Regions from separate parts of the Homo sapiens genome. Here regions 1, 3 and 4 are each linked to region 2. The links are contacts of gene promoters, found by promoter capture Hi-C in blood cells and fetal thymus (Javierre and others, 2016). All regions are on one chromosome and are shown on one strand. Each heading gives the region's core, a stretch centred on a gene start or on the middle of the fragment in contact. The rest is flanking DNA. Distances are from core to core; before and after follow the strand shown.

Region 1 (2,700 bases), core at 58-2,557, 160 kb before region 2:
ATGTGTTCCCCAAAGCGGTGGGAAAAGAAGGAGAAGAAAGCTGGAGTATAGGAGAAAACAATGGCACAAATGTGGGCAGTGCAGGTATTAAAGGCCTTCTGCCGAGCATCTGCTGAGGAGAGGCTGACCACTGCCCGGAGAATCATGGTATAGGAGTTGGTGATACACAGTATGTCAAAGCCCCAAATCAGGAGGGCAACCATCAGACCATAGATGGCATTGACCTTGACATTACCACAGGACAATTTGGCTACAGACATGTGGTCACAGTAGGTATGGGGAAGTATATTGCCTCTGCAGTAGGGCAGGAGCTTGGTGAGGAAAGTAAAGGGAATAATGAGTAATACCCCTCTCAGGAAGGTGGCAGTCCCAACCTTTGCAATTACAGGATTGGTGAGGATAGTTGAATAGCGTAAGGGGTAGCAGATGGCCACATAGCGATCCAGGGCCATAAGCATAAGCACCCCAGACTCCATCCCTGTGAAGGTGTGGGTGAAGAACATCTGGACAAGGCATTCATCAAATCCAATGTCCTTGAGATGAAACCAGAAGATGCAGAGGGCTTTAGGGATTGTACTAGAGCACATAACAAGGTCAGTAAAGGAAAGCATGGCCAAGAAGTAGTACATGGGTTTGTGCAGGGCATCCTCATAGTGAATGAGGTAGAGGAGTCCACAATTCCCTACCATAGCCACAACATACATAGAGCAGAATGGGAAGGAAATCCAGAGTTGTGTGTCTTCCAGTCCTGGGACTCCATTCAGAATAAATGAAGCTGGTATTAGGTCTGTTTTATTCAGTGTTAGCATGATAAGTCTGGTAGGTTATGAAATAGCTCAAAATTTGTCTGGGCTTTCCTAGAGTTAAAAAAAAAAACAAGAGAAAATATAGGTTATTTTTACTGTCTCCCTCTCCCCCAACTTTTAAAAATTCCATAATGCATTTTAATGGTCCAACAACCAAATTTCTGAGTGCCAAGAAATAATTTTGTTTGTCTGTTTAGTTTTATTGATTGATTAATTAATTGATTCAGTAAAAAATTCTTATTGAGCAGTCTAAGTTTTCAACACAGATGCCAATCAAACATCAATTATTTTATAAAAAGACATATTCCCAATCTCATAGATTTATAATCAAGTATAATTCTGACTTTTCAAATGGTATTTTTATTAGAATATCTTACTTAACTATAACTATACTCATCTCAATATAGATATAATTTTAAAGAAGAGTCATTTGATTACCTCACTGATGATCTGAGAGATGAGATGTTGACTTTTTAATTTTTATTCTTAATGACTGACTGATATTTATTCTTGGGTACTCAGGCACTGTTCAAAGAATTTTGAAATTTTAATTAAATTATTACTCAATGAAGCTTGGGGTCTCAAAAATTAGTAAATTTATTGGGTGTCTATACTCAATAATAATTTAATTGTATATTTTAAAATAACTAAAATAATATAATTGGGTTGTCTGTAACACAAAGGATAAATGTTTGAGATGATGGATACCCCTATTTACTTTACTGGGATTTTTTTTTTTTTTTTTTTTTTTTTTTGAGGCAGAGTCTTGCTTTGTTGCCCAGGCTGGAGTGCAGTGGCGCAATCTTGGCTGCAACCTCCACCTCCCGGATTCAAGCAATTCTCCTGTCTTAGCCTCCCGAGTAGCTGCGACTACAGGCACATGCCACCACGCCCAGCTAATTTTTGTATTTTTAGCAGAGATGGGGTTTCACTATATTGGTCAGGTTGGTCTCCAACTCCTGACCTCAGGTAATCCACCCACATCAGGCTCCCAAAGTGCTGGGATTACAGGCATGAGCCACTGTGCCCGGCCCTTTAAAAGGGATTATTACACATTGTATGCTTCTATCAAAATATCTCATACACCCATAAATATATACACCTACTATGTGCCCACAAAAATTTAAAATTAAAAAAGTCAATGAAGTTTTGATTCAATTTTTTCACTTTTCAAGATATCTTTCTTGTTCTTTATGTATCTAGTCAACGCAAACTAGAAGATATCCAAATGCATACATACAGAAAATATATAAAGTACTTCAACAACATCAGTAAGAAAAAGTTGCAGGAAGAAACATACACTTCAAAAGAGAAATAAAATTGCCAATGAACAGGTAAATAGGCACAAACTTTTATATTAATCAGAAAAATAAGTAAAAATTGTATCTCTCATGACAAAGCACCTTTTTTTGGTATGTAGTGACATACCAAACAGGACAGCTAAAATGAAAAGAACTAAAAATACCAAGCATTGGCAAAGATGTAGAACAACTGGAACTCTCATTTACTGCTGGTAGACATGTAAATTAGAACAACTCTTTATTAGATATCTCATAATGATAAACATACACATGACCACCATTGCCATTTCCAACAAAACTATGTATATATATTTACTAGAATACATCAATTAGAATGCTTATTGAAACATGATTTGTAGTATAGCCTAAAACTGGAAAAAACCTAAATGTTCATCAACATCAAATGGGTAAATAAATTTTGGTACATTCCCACAATGAAATACCACGTAACAATAAGAATAAACAATCTATGACTATATGCATAATATAGACGAATCTCACAATATGTGTTAATTTTTTTTAGAAAGACTTAAAATAGATGTAACATCTTGTGATCTTTAAATGAAATACAAAAACGGATCAAATTATTCTGT
Region 2 (2,766 bases), core at 42-2,541:
TATTAAAGTTCTCTAGGTGATTCTTACGCACATTAAGGCTTCAGAAGCACTGCCTTAGATAAAGGACCTTCTTTCCCAGGTGGATACAATTTAGGGTGCAAAACAGCTAGAAGAGGGAGGGGGACAGAGAATGGCCTGCTATTTAGATACGAAGCATCTTTTAGAATGGAAGCTTGCATCGATATCAAAATGGCTTTCAGAATAAAAATCAGTGACTCAGCAGGGGATACTGGGGCTGGTGTAGGCTGGGGGTTCAGAGTTAGGAATGACAGAGCGGGCCCGTCCACCAGCTGGGAGCCCTAGTGAAAGTGGAATAAAATAGGTGGCAGTTGCATTTATAAGTGAGTTGGGCATGAGTTCTTGCACTTTAGGAATAACATTTTTTTTTATCTTTGTGTAGGGTTATATTTAACCTATTATCTGCAATTGATTATCTAACAGGACTCAATAAATATTTGAATTGGAACATAATCAGTTTCAAAACAAAAAATTTAATTTCCACTTCAAAAGAATTTCTACCCCCTGCATTTCAGAAACCTATAATTTAAAAATTGTTTTGATTGTGCATTTTTTTAAAGCTAGGCATGGAGTTTGCCAGTAATAATGACCATAATTTGTGTCAGGCAGCCTCCTACGTGTTTAAATCTGTCTCACTCAATCCTCACCAAAACTCTAAGATATACATATTACTCCGTCCATCTTATAGATGGAAGAAACTAAAGCTCAAAGAAGTCAAGTTAACAGTCTTCGGGCACACAGCCAGTGTCTGTCAGAGTCAGGATTTGAACACATGCAGTCTGGCTGCGGCATCTATGCTCCTAACCACACATTTCTGTCTCTATTGACTGACTGATTAAAATGTCTCTAACCTCAGTGGGGTCATTTGCAGTGAGAAAGAAAAAGAAATAAAGATATAATGAGTTCCGAAAGGGAAAGGACCTTATCTCTTTCACTGCCCTGTCACCTCTGCCAGAAGTGACAATAAGAGCCAGTCAACAGAACGGTAGACATACCTCTCTGACCCGCACATCTGGGGAATGAGAAGCCAAGAAGTTCCAGATGTAAGCAATATCAGGTGGTCAAAGCTCTTCAGAGCAATCCAAGGCACCTTAAACTAATCTTAAGGAACAGAGCGCGCTCACTCGGCTTTTATCTAAACTCAACCACGCACGACTCTGCTCCGTTCCGTTCCGAGAAAGGCAGGGGATCCCTCCTCCGCCAGCCTTTGGCCGTTGAACGGACGGACCCACAGGTCAGGAGTTTGCGGAAGGCTCATCTCCCAACTCCTTCTGGGAGGAGTCGGGCCGCCTGGGGTGGGGGATAAACGGTGCTCACTTCCTGGAGCGGCCAGGCTGGAGATGGGGGAGGGGAAGGGGGAAGGGGGAAGGGGGAAGGGGGAAGGGGGGAAGGGGAGAACGGGGGAAGGGGGGAAGGGATGCTGACTCTGAATCCACGCCTGACAAAATGGTTTGCAGTGATTCCCTAAAGCAGTTTCCAGAGCTGCCTCCTCTACATACTTCAGCTTGTAGAATAGAGGTTTAACTCTCTTTACACGGCCTATTCCCAGCTGCAAAGGTGCCTCTTCTGTGCTCCCTTCCCAAACTTGAGTTCACTTGAAAATGCAGAAGTCTCCCTCATTCTTCTTTCACCCGTGAACCACCCCCAACCCGACCTGCAGAGCGGGTCAAACTCTCCAGACAAGTGGGGACAGCGGTAGCTGGCCAGAAAATAAACTTGCTCACTAACCTGGAATCTGTGGCCTGGATCAGAGCCAAGGACTTGAAGCAGCCGCGTCCTCCACCCAGGCCGAAAGACTCAGGGGGGAAGGGGCGGGGCCTGGGGAGGAGGAGGGTCAAATTGTCCAGCCCCGCAGGAGATCCAGCCGATTCCATGGGTGTGGTCACCAGTGACCCCTCAGGTGGTAAGGGAGATGGAGATGGTTTCTGAGGCCAGGCGCGGTGGTTCACCCCTGTAATCCCAGCACTTTGGGAGGCCGAGGCGGGCGGATAACGAGGTCAGGAGATTGAGACCATCCCGGCCAACATGATGAAACCCTGTCTCTACTAAAAATACAGAAATTAGCTGGGCGCGCCTGTGGTCCTAGCTACTCGGGAGGCTGAGGCAGGAGAATCGCTTGAACCCGGGAGGTGGAGGTTGCACTCCAGCCTGGAGACAGAGCGAGACTCTCTCTCAAAAAAAAAAAAAAAGAATTTTTGAAGGTAGCAACGCAAAGCTGTTCATCTTACCTGATGAACGGCAAATCCGGAGGCCTTTGAGAACACCAGGCCAGAGATGACCCTTGTAAATTGTCTGCAGTGTACTGTAGCTTTCTAATATCATATCAGAGTTTAATTACACTGATAATACACCTGTACTCCATATAGACGTATTAATTAAAATGTCTAAATAAACATATAAAGTTATACGAGTAAAAGCCCCTTTGCATAATGGCATGTTTTGCCAAACGATCATTAAAATTCATCAGTTTAAAATTACACGTATGTATGTATAAAGCTGTGTGTGTGTATCTGTAATTTTGACCTATATAACTAGAAGACAATCTTTGTTTTTATTTAGGTCTGATGAATACATGTAAAGCTTATTGAGCCTCAGAACTCTAACTACAGGGTTTCAATAGCACAGAAACTCTGAGAAGAAAAAGAATGTCAAAGTTCCTCCCTAAGGAGACTGATTAGGTGAGTATCACCTTGCCTTAGAAGGTGGCTTGGGGAGGGAGGTATAGAGAGAGAAGGGACTGGGGTGTCC
Region 3 (2,700 bases), core at 71-2,570, 230 kb before region 2:
CACAAAGCACTTCCTGATAGGACCTCTGTCTACCTTTCTAGTCACATTTTTTACTCCTCACCCTTTCTCTTTTACCTCTGAATATACAAAAACCTTTGTGAACCTAAACTTGCTATTCTTTGTTCAGCCTTAATATTAGAGCTAGGTTGTTTATTTTTTTCCAAATAATTTCCATCTGCTTTTCCTTGTAGGACACTTATACATATAATTCGAGATTGACCCTATATACTATTTTCCCTGTAAAATCTTTACTCACTACCTCCAATAGATATTGATGATCATGCTCTCAGGATTCATGAGTTTTGTGAACATCTGTGATGTACAATTACCTTGTTATCATTTTATAATGATTCCATTGCATTTTATATCCTCTACTAGACAAGGAATTAGCTAGTGTTTTTGTTTTCATTTACATTTCTCAGCGTGGAGTAGGCACATGGAGTCAGGCACATGATTGTACCCAGAAAAACTTGTTGGCTGACATTGATAGTATGTTTGTGAGAACTCAGTGAAAACTTGCCCATGGCTGGGCATAGTGGCTCACACCTGTAATCCCAGCACCTTGGGGTGCCAAGGCAGGCGAATCTCCTGAGCTCAGGAGTTCAAGACCAGCCTGAGCAACATAGTGAAACCCTGTTTCTACCAAAAATACAAAAAAATTAGCTGGGCATGGTGGGGCATGCCTGTGTCACAACTACTCAGGAGGCTGAGGTGGGAGGATCACTTGAGTCCAGAAGGCAGAGGTTGCAGTGAGCCGAGATGATGCCACTGCAGCCTAACCTGAGTGACAGAGTGAGACCCCATCTCAAAAAAAAAAAAGAAAAGAAAGCTTGTCCACACAAAACTGATACTGCACTGTGCACTGCCTGTACAACTGGAAAGATTTATCCTCAAACTATGATTTTCATAATGAATCAGAGTTGAAACTAATAGCTCATAAAAATAACTAAAATTTATTGAATGGTTAGTATACATCAGAGATTGTGCTACAAGCTTTTTTTGCATCAGAGCATTTAATTAGAAGAAACATCTCTGTGATACATTTTCTTTTTCACATTTGGAAGAAAATATGGAAGTCAAAATTTAGAGAGATTATGTAGCCTGTCCAACTCTAGTGGCTAGAAATTAAAAGACAGAGGACTTAACACTTGAGATGAATTGAATCTGAAACTGATGTTATATTTCCCCCAATTCTTTCCTACAAACTTTTTATTTCCTTCACACTGCATTCATTTTTTCTCTCTCCCCTTTCTTTTATATGTATTTCTTCTCACACATCCCTGGCTACAGTCCAGATTCTGAGTATCTTGAAACCAGGAACCGTATCATCTGCCTCCCTCTCAATAAATCTAAGATATGACTAATAATATTGCTTAAATTAGTGTTTCAAAAAATGAATTGATGAGTGAATGAATAAATAAATTATAATATATACTAATAGCTTAATGGTTTGCCTGCTTGGTCAATAACATGACAATTATATTTTCAGATCCATTTTATAATTTATTTATTTATTTTATTTTTACTTTAGATTCAGAGTGTACATGTGTAGGTTTGTTACAAGGTTATATTACATGATGCTGAAGTTTGGGCTTCTGTAGATTTTTTCACCCAGATAGTGAATGTAGTATCCAACAGAAAGCTTTTCAGTGTTTATTCTTCCCGCTCCTTTCGAAGAACCTGGAGTCTATTGTTCCCATTTAGATCCATTTTAAATGGAGACCCTAAACTGATGACTTGGGAAAAACAGAACCCTTGGACATTCTTCTGTGAATTATAGGGTATTTTAACACATATTTTGCTGACAATTAAAATGGGGAGATTTCATAGAACATATAAATCTAGCTTGTCTTTAAAAAATACTGAAAAATAGTGAACACTGGACCCACGTTTCTCTATGTCTCTACAGCCTCCCCACTTACACGCAACGCAGGGATTGTCAGCAGGTCTGCTGTCCTTATTTTACTACCTTTCTGGTCTCACAAACATGTGAGTCTATAAACGCTTAGGAAAAGCATCAACTCTTTAAGTAATGGGTATATTACTTCTTTATTTTGCATTCTCTGCTTTGGCAGATCCTTGCCCCCACTCCCAACACACACAAATTCAAGAACTTGCAGAGACTTCAGAAAATTGACATATTATGGTGACTTACAAATTTATGTCTTTATTTTGATTTTTTATTTCTATTTTTATTTTAGGTACACGTGCAAGTTTGTTACATGGGTAAATTACATGTCATGATTTTAATACCATTTTATTCACATCTTTTATGAAATTTTGTCTCCATTATTTTCTCACCACCTGAAACAATATGTCTATTCTATGTTTCATTTGTCATAGGTAAAACTAACCTTGTCTCCAAGTAAAAATTTAATTACACCTTCCTGAATCTGCTTGGTCTTGACTCCATAAACAATTGGGTTCATGGTAGGAGGCAGTAGCAGATAAAGGTTGGCCACGATGATGTGTATGTGGTTTGGGATATTGTGTCCTACAAAACGATGAGTGAAAAAAGTGAAAAAAGCAGCAACATAGGTGATCACAATGGAACACATGTGAGATGTGCAGGTGCTGAAGGCTTTGTGACGAGCATCTGCTGATGACAGGCTCATAACAGCCTGCAAAATCATAGTGTAAGATACAGAGATACAGCAGATATCAAACACACCAATCAGGAGAGCAACCATCAGACCATAA
Region 4 (2,700 bases), core at 66-2,565, 130 kb before region 2:
AGAGTAAGTTAAAGGCTAGGAAATAGAAAAATTTATGCACATAACATTTTAAAGAAGTTTGTACAAACAAGAAAATGTAGGGCAGAAGTTGGAAGTTTAGAGTTGGAAGTTGGGGTTTAGAGTAATTTGTAGTAGAAAGTAGAATGGTGGTTACCAGATGCTGAAAAGGATAAAAGGTGGGGAACTGGGGGATGCGGAGATGTTGACCAAAGTGTATAAAGGTTCAGTTAGACAGGAAGAGTAAATTTTCAAGAACTATTGTACAACGTGGTGACCACAGTCAATAGTAATATATGGTATGTTTCAAAATTGCGAAAGAATAAATGTAAAATGTTCTTACTGCAAAAAAAATAACTTTATGAGGTGATAGTTATGTTAATTAGACTGATATAATCATTCCACAAAGTATACATATATCACAATATCACATTGCATCCCTTATATATATTAGTCAATTAAAAATGAAAATATACATCAAAAATAAAAATTAAATTTTAAAAAGCATTTCTTGTTTTAAAATCGGGAAAAATAATGCATCTTTGGAGGTTGGTATGAACTATTTGGTAGAGAGAAAAATAGATTGTTGATAAGTCAGAGAGAATTGGATAAATAAGAGCATATGGTTGCTGAAAAAAGGAGGGGTGATGAGAGCCACTTTCCATGGCTCACATGGCAGGGACCTACCTCAAATTGGAAGAATGGTACCTGTCAATTAACCTTAGAAAATGTGGTTAAATGTTTGCCTATGTAGGTAGGTGTGATATAATACATTTGTTATGTTTAGTTAGAGGAAATTAAGAGCTACCATTTGGTAATGTTTTAGGGAAATGTTTGGACCAAGAACAGGAAGGAAGCTGCAGATTAATGAGAAACTTATTTTTAATGTAGAGAAAAGGCTTACAATTCTGAGACGTACACAACAATTCTGGAGGTGCCAGAAAACCCTTTACTGTATTACATCAAATAATAATTCGATATTATCACAATTCTTGCCTCCCCTGCTGGTTTCTCTGCTTTCTTCCAGTAAACTTCTTGAACATACAAAATGCTTAAAGAAGCTCATTTACAATGAATGAGAAGTGGATAAGATGTAGGAACTTATCCGACCCTCAGCAACTTAGAGCGCTTAGACTGCAGAATATGAAGTAATAGAGCAGTAATTCCTCAATGTCCTTTTCATAATCTGCCAAATATGTGAGTCCATTAGTCCAGTGCTCACTTAGAAAATGATTCTTCCTGAAAGTTTTTAGTTTTCATTGCTCTTCAAATTAGACACTATGACTAAATTCTCTATTAACTGAACAGTATACACGAATGGAAGGGATGAGGCTGTACCTTTTGACCATCCTACATTGCTTACTCTTACAAGGAACAGATTCCAAATACTAATATAATTTGAAGTCTGCTTATAGTCAAGGTGAGTTCAAGATGATATCATCAGAAGCAAGAAATAATGACAGTGGGAAGGAATTAGTTAAGCACACCATCGGTCATAATTGAAAGAAACAAAAAGGCAAGAGAAGTTTCCTAATGCAATGAAGAGCACAGTGTTTTCTGCATAGACATCTAGTTGCTGTCTCCTGCAGGAAGCCCTCTGCCTTGACACTGTTCTGGATTTTCAGCTCTTCCTTTCATGGTCCCCATTGCTATGGACTTAGATTGGAATGAGTGAGAAGTTAGCCAAAGATGGATCTCTGAGAAACACCAACATTTAAAAGTCAGGTTCATTAAAAATAAAATAAGGGGAAGAGGATGAAAAACATTAGAGACATGAAAGAAAAGCTGGGATTGTGTGGGATCATAGAAATCACAGTGGATAGATTTTGGAGAAGTAAGTCATAATATAACACAATTTAAGGTAGTTCTGTTAAAAATGGTTACTGCTGGCCGGGCGTGGTGGCTCACGCCTGTAATCCCAGCACTTTGGGAGGCTGAGGCGGGCGGATCACGAGGTCAGAAGATCGAGACCATCCTGGCTAACACAGTGAAACCCCATCTCTACAAAAAATACAAAAAATTAGCCAGGCATGGTGGCGGGCACCTGTAGTCCCAGCTACTCAGGAGGCTGAGGCAGGAGAATGGCATGAACCCGGGAGGCAGAGCTGGTAGTGAGCTGAGATTGTGCCACTGCACTCCATCCTGGGCACCAGAGTGAGACTCCATCTCAAAAAAAAAAAAAAAAAAAATGGTTACTGCTGGCTTTGATGACAGGTATTTCTCTGGAAACATCAACTTCTGGTTGAAGTTAGATTGTAATATAAGAAAAGAATAGGACATAAGAATGCAGCAATAATTAGTTCCAAAAATATTTTTCATGAACTTTCATTTAAAAAAAATCACTAAGGTTATGAGAAATTTTTCTATGGGGCAAATGTGCCAGTAAATTCAAATGGGTTATAAACAGGAGACATCCAAGAAGTAACTGATAGTCTGGGATCCCAAAGGCATATTATAAGAGGCTTTCTTGAGAGGAAAAAGAAATTGGCAATAAATAAATATAGCAAGAAAGGAGGAAATAATGGCTATACACATCAAAAGTTTATATGAGGATTATAATTGGAGACAGTTTATTCCTTGTCATTTCATTTTTTATGGAATTGAAATCAATGTAATATTACAAACATGAGTGGCCGGAGGTGTATAAGGGGTTGATCATGATATAAACTTATTATTGTAAATCATAAAAGGTGAACACATAGA

Evidence for each region. The method cuts DNA at HindIII sites, captures the fragments that hold promoters and counts their contacts. A CHiCAGO score of 5 or more calls a contact.
Region 1: the fragment with the promoter of OR52N4 here is called in contact with the fragment with the promoter of TRIM6 in region 2 in 12 of 17 cell types (total CD4 T cells, activated CD4 T cells, total CD8 T cells and 9 more); the score reaches 7.9 in total CD4 T cells.
Region 3: a fragment that was not itself captured here is called in contact with the fragment with the promoter of TRIM6 in region 2 in 6 of 17 cell types (total CD8 T cells, activated CD4 T cells, total B cells and 3 more); the score reaches 6.7 in total CD8 T cells.
Region 4: a contact is called between a fragment that was not itself captured here and the fragment with the promoter of TRIM6 in region 2, in 1 of 17 cell types (activated CD4 T cells). The highest score is 5.2, in activated CD4 T cells.

The regions. Positions count from the first base shown.
Region 1 is chr11:5,752,850-5,755,549 of GRCh38, reverse strand. It overlaps OR52N4 (olfactory receptor family 52 subfamily N member 4), which reads right to left and starts at 1,307. Exons shown (of 2, transcript NM_001005175.5): 1 at 1,245-1,307; 2 at 1-857. The coding sequence starts at 809. The HindIII fragment of the contact is 4,248 bases long and covers 1-1,380 here.
Region 2 is chr11:5,595,162-5,597,927 of GRCh38, reverse strand. TRIM6 (tripartite motif containing 6) reads right to left here and starts at 1,291. Exons shown (of 8, transcript NM_001003818.3): 1 at 1,014-1,291. The coding sequence starts at 1,030. TRIM6-TRIM34 (TRIM6-TRIM34 readthrough) reads right to left here and starts at 1,291. Exons shown (of 14, transcript NM_001003819.4): 1 at 1,014-1,291. The coding sequence starts at 1,030. It also overlaps a transcript of TRIM5 not described here. RefSeq lists enhancers at 1,307-1,356, 603-1,520, 1,675-1,969. The HindIII fragment of the contact is 2,426 bases long and covers 175-2,600 here.
Region 3 is chr11:5,820,932-5,823,631 of GRCh38, reverse strand. It overlaps OR52N2 (olfactory receptor family 52 subfamily N member 2), which reads right to left. Exons shown (of 2, transcript NM_001005174.3): 2 at 2,149-2,700. The coding sequence ends at 2,331. Among named protein-coding and RNA genes, the nearest start is that of OR52N2, 13 kb to the right of the region's middle. The HindIII fragment of the contact is 649 bases long and covers 996-1,644 here.
Region 4 is chr11:5,729,676-5,732,375 of GRCh38, reverse strand. It overlaps a transcript of OR52N4 not described here. Among named protein-coding and RNA genes, the nearest start is that of OR56B1, 5.4 kb to the left of the region's middle. The HindIII fragment of the contact is 5,391 bases long and covers 1-2,700 here.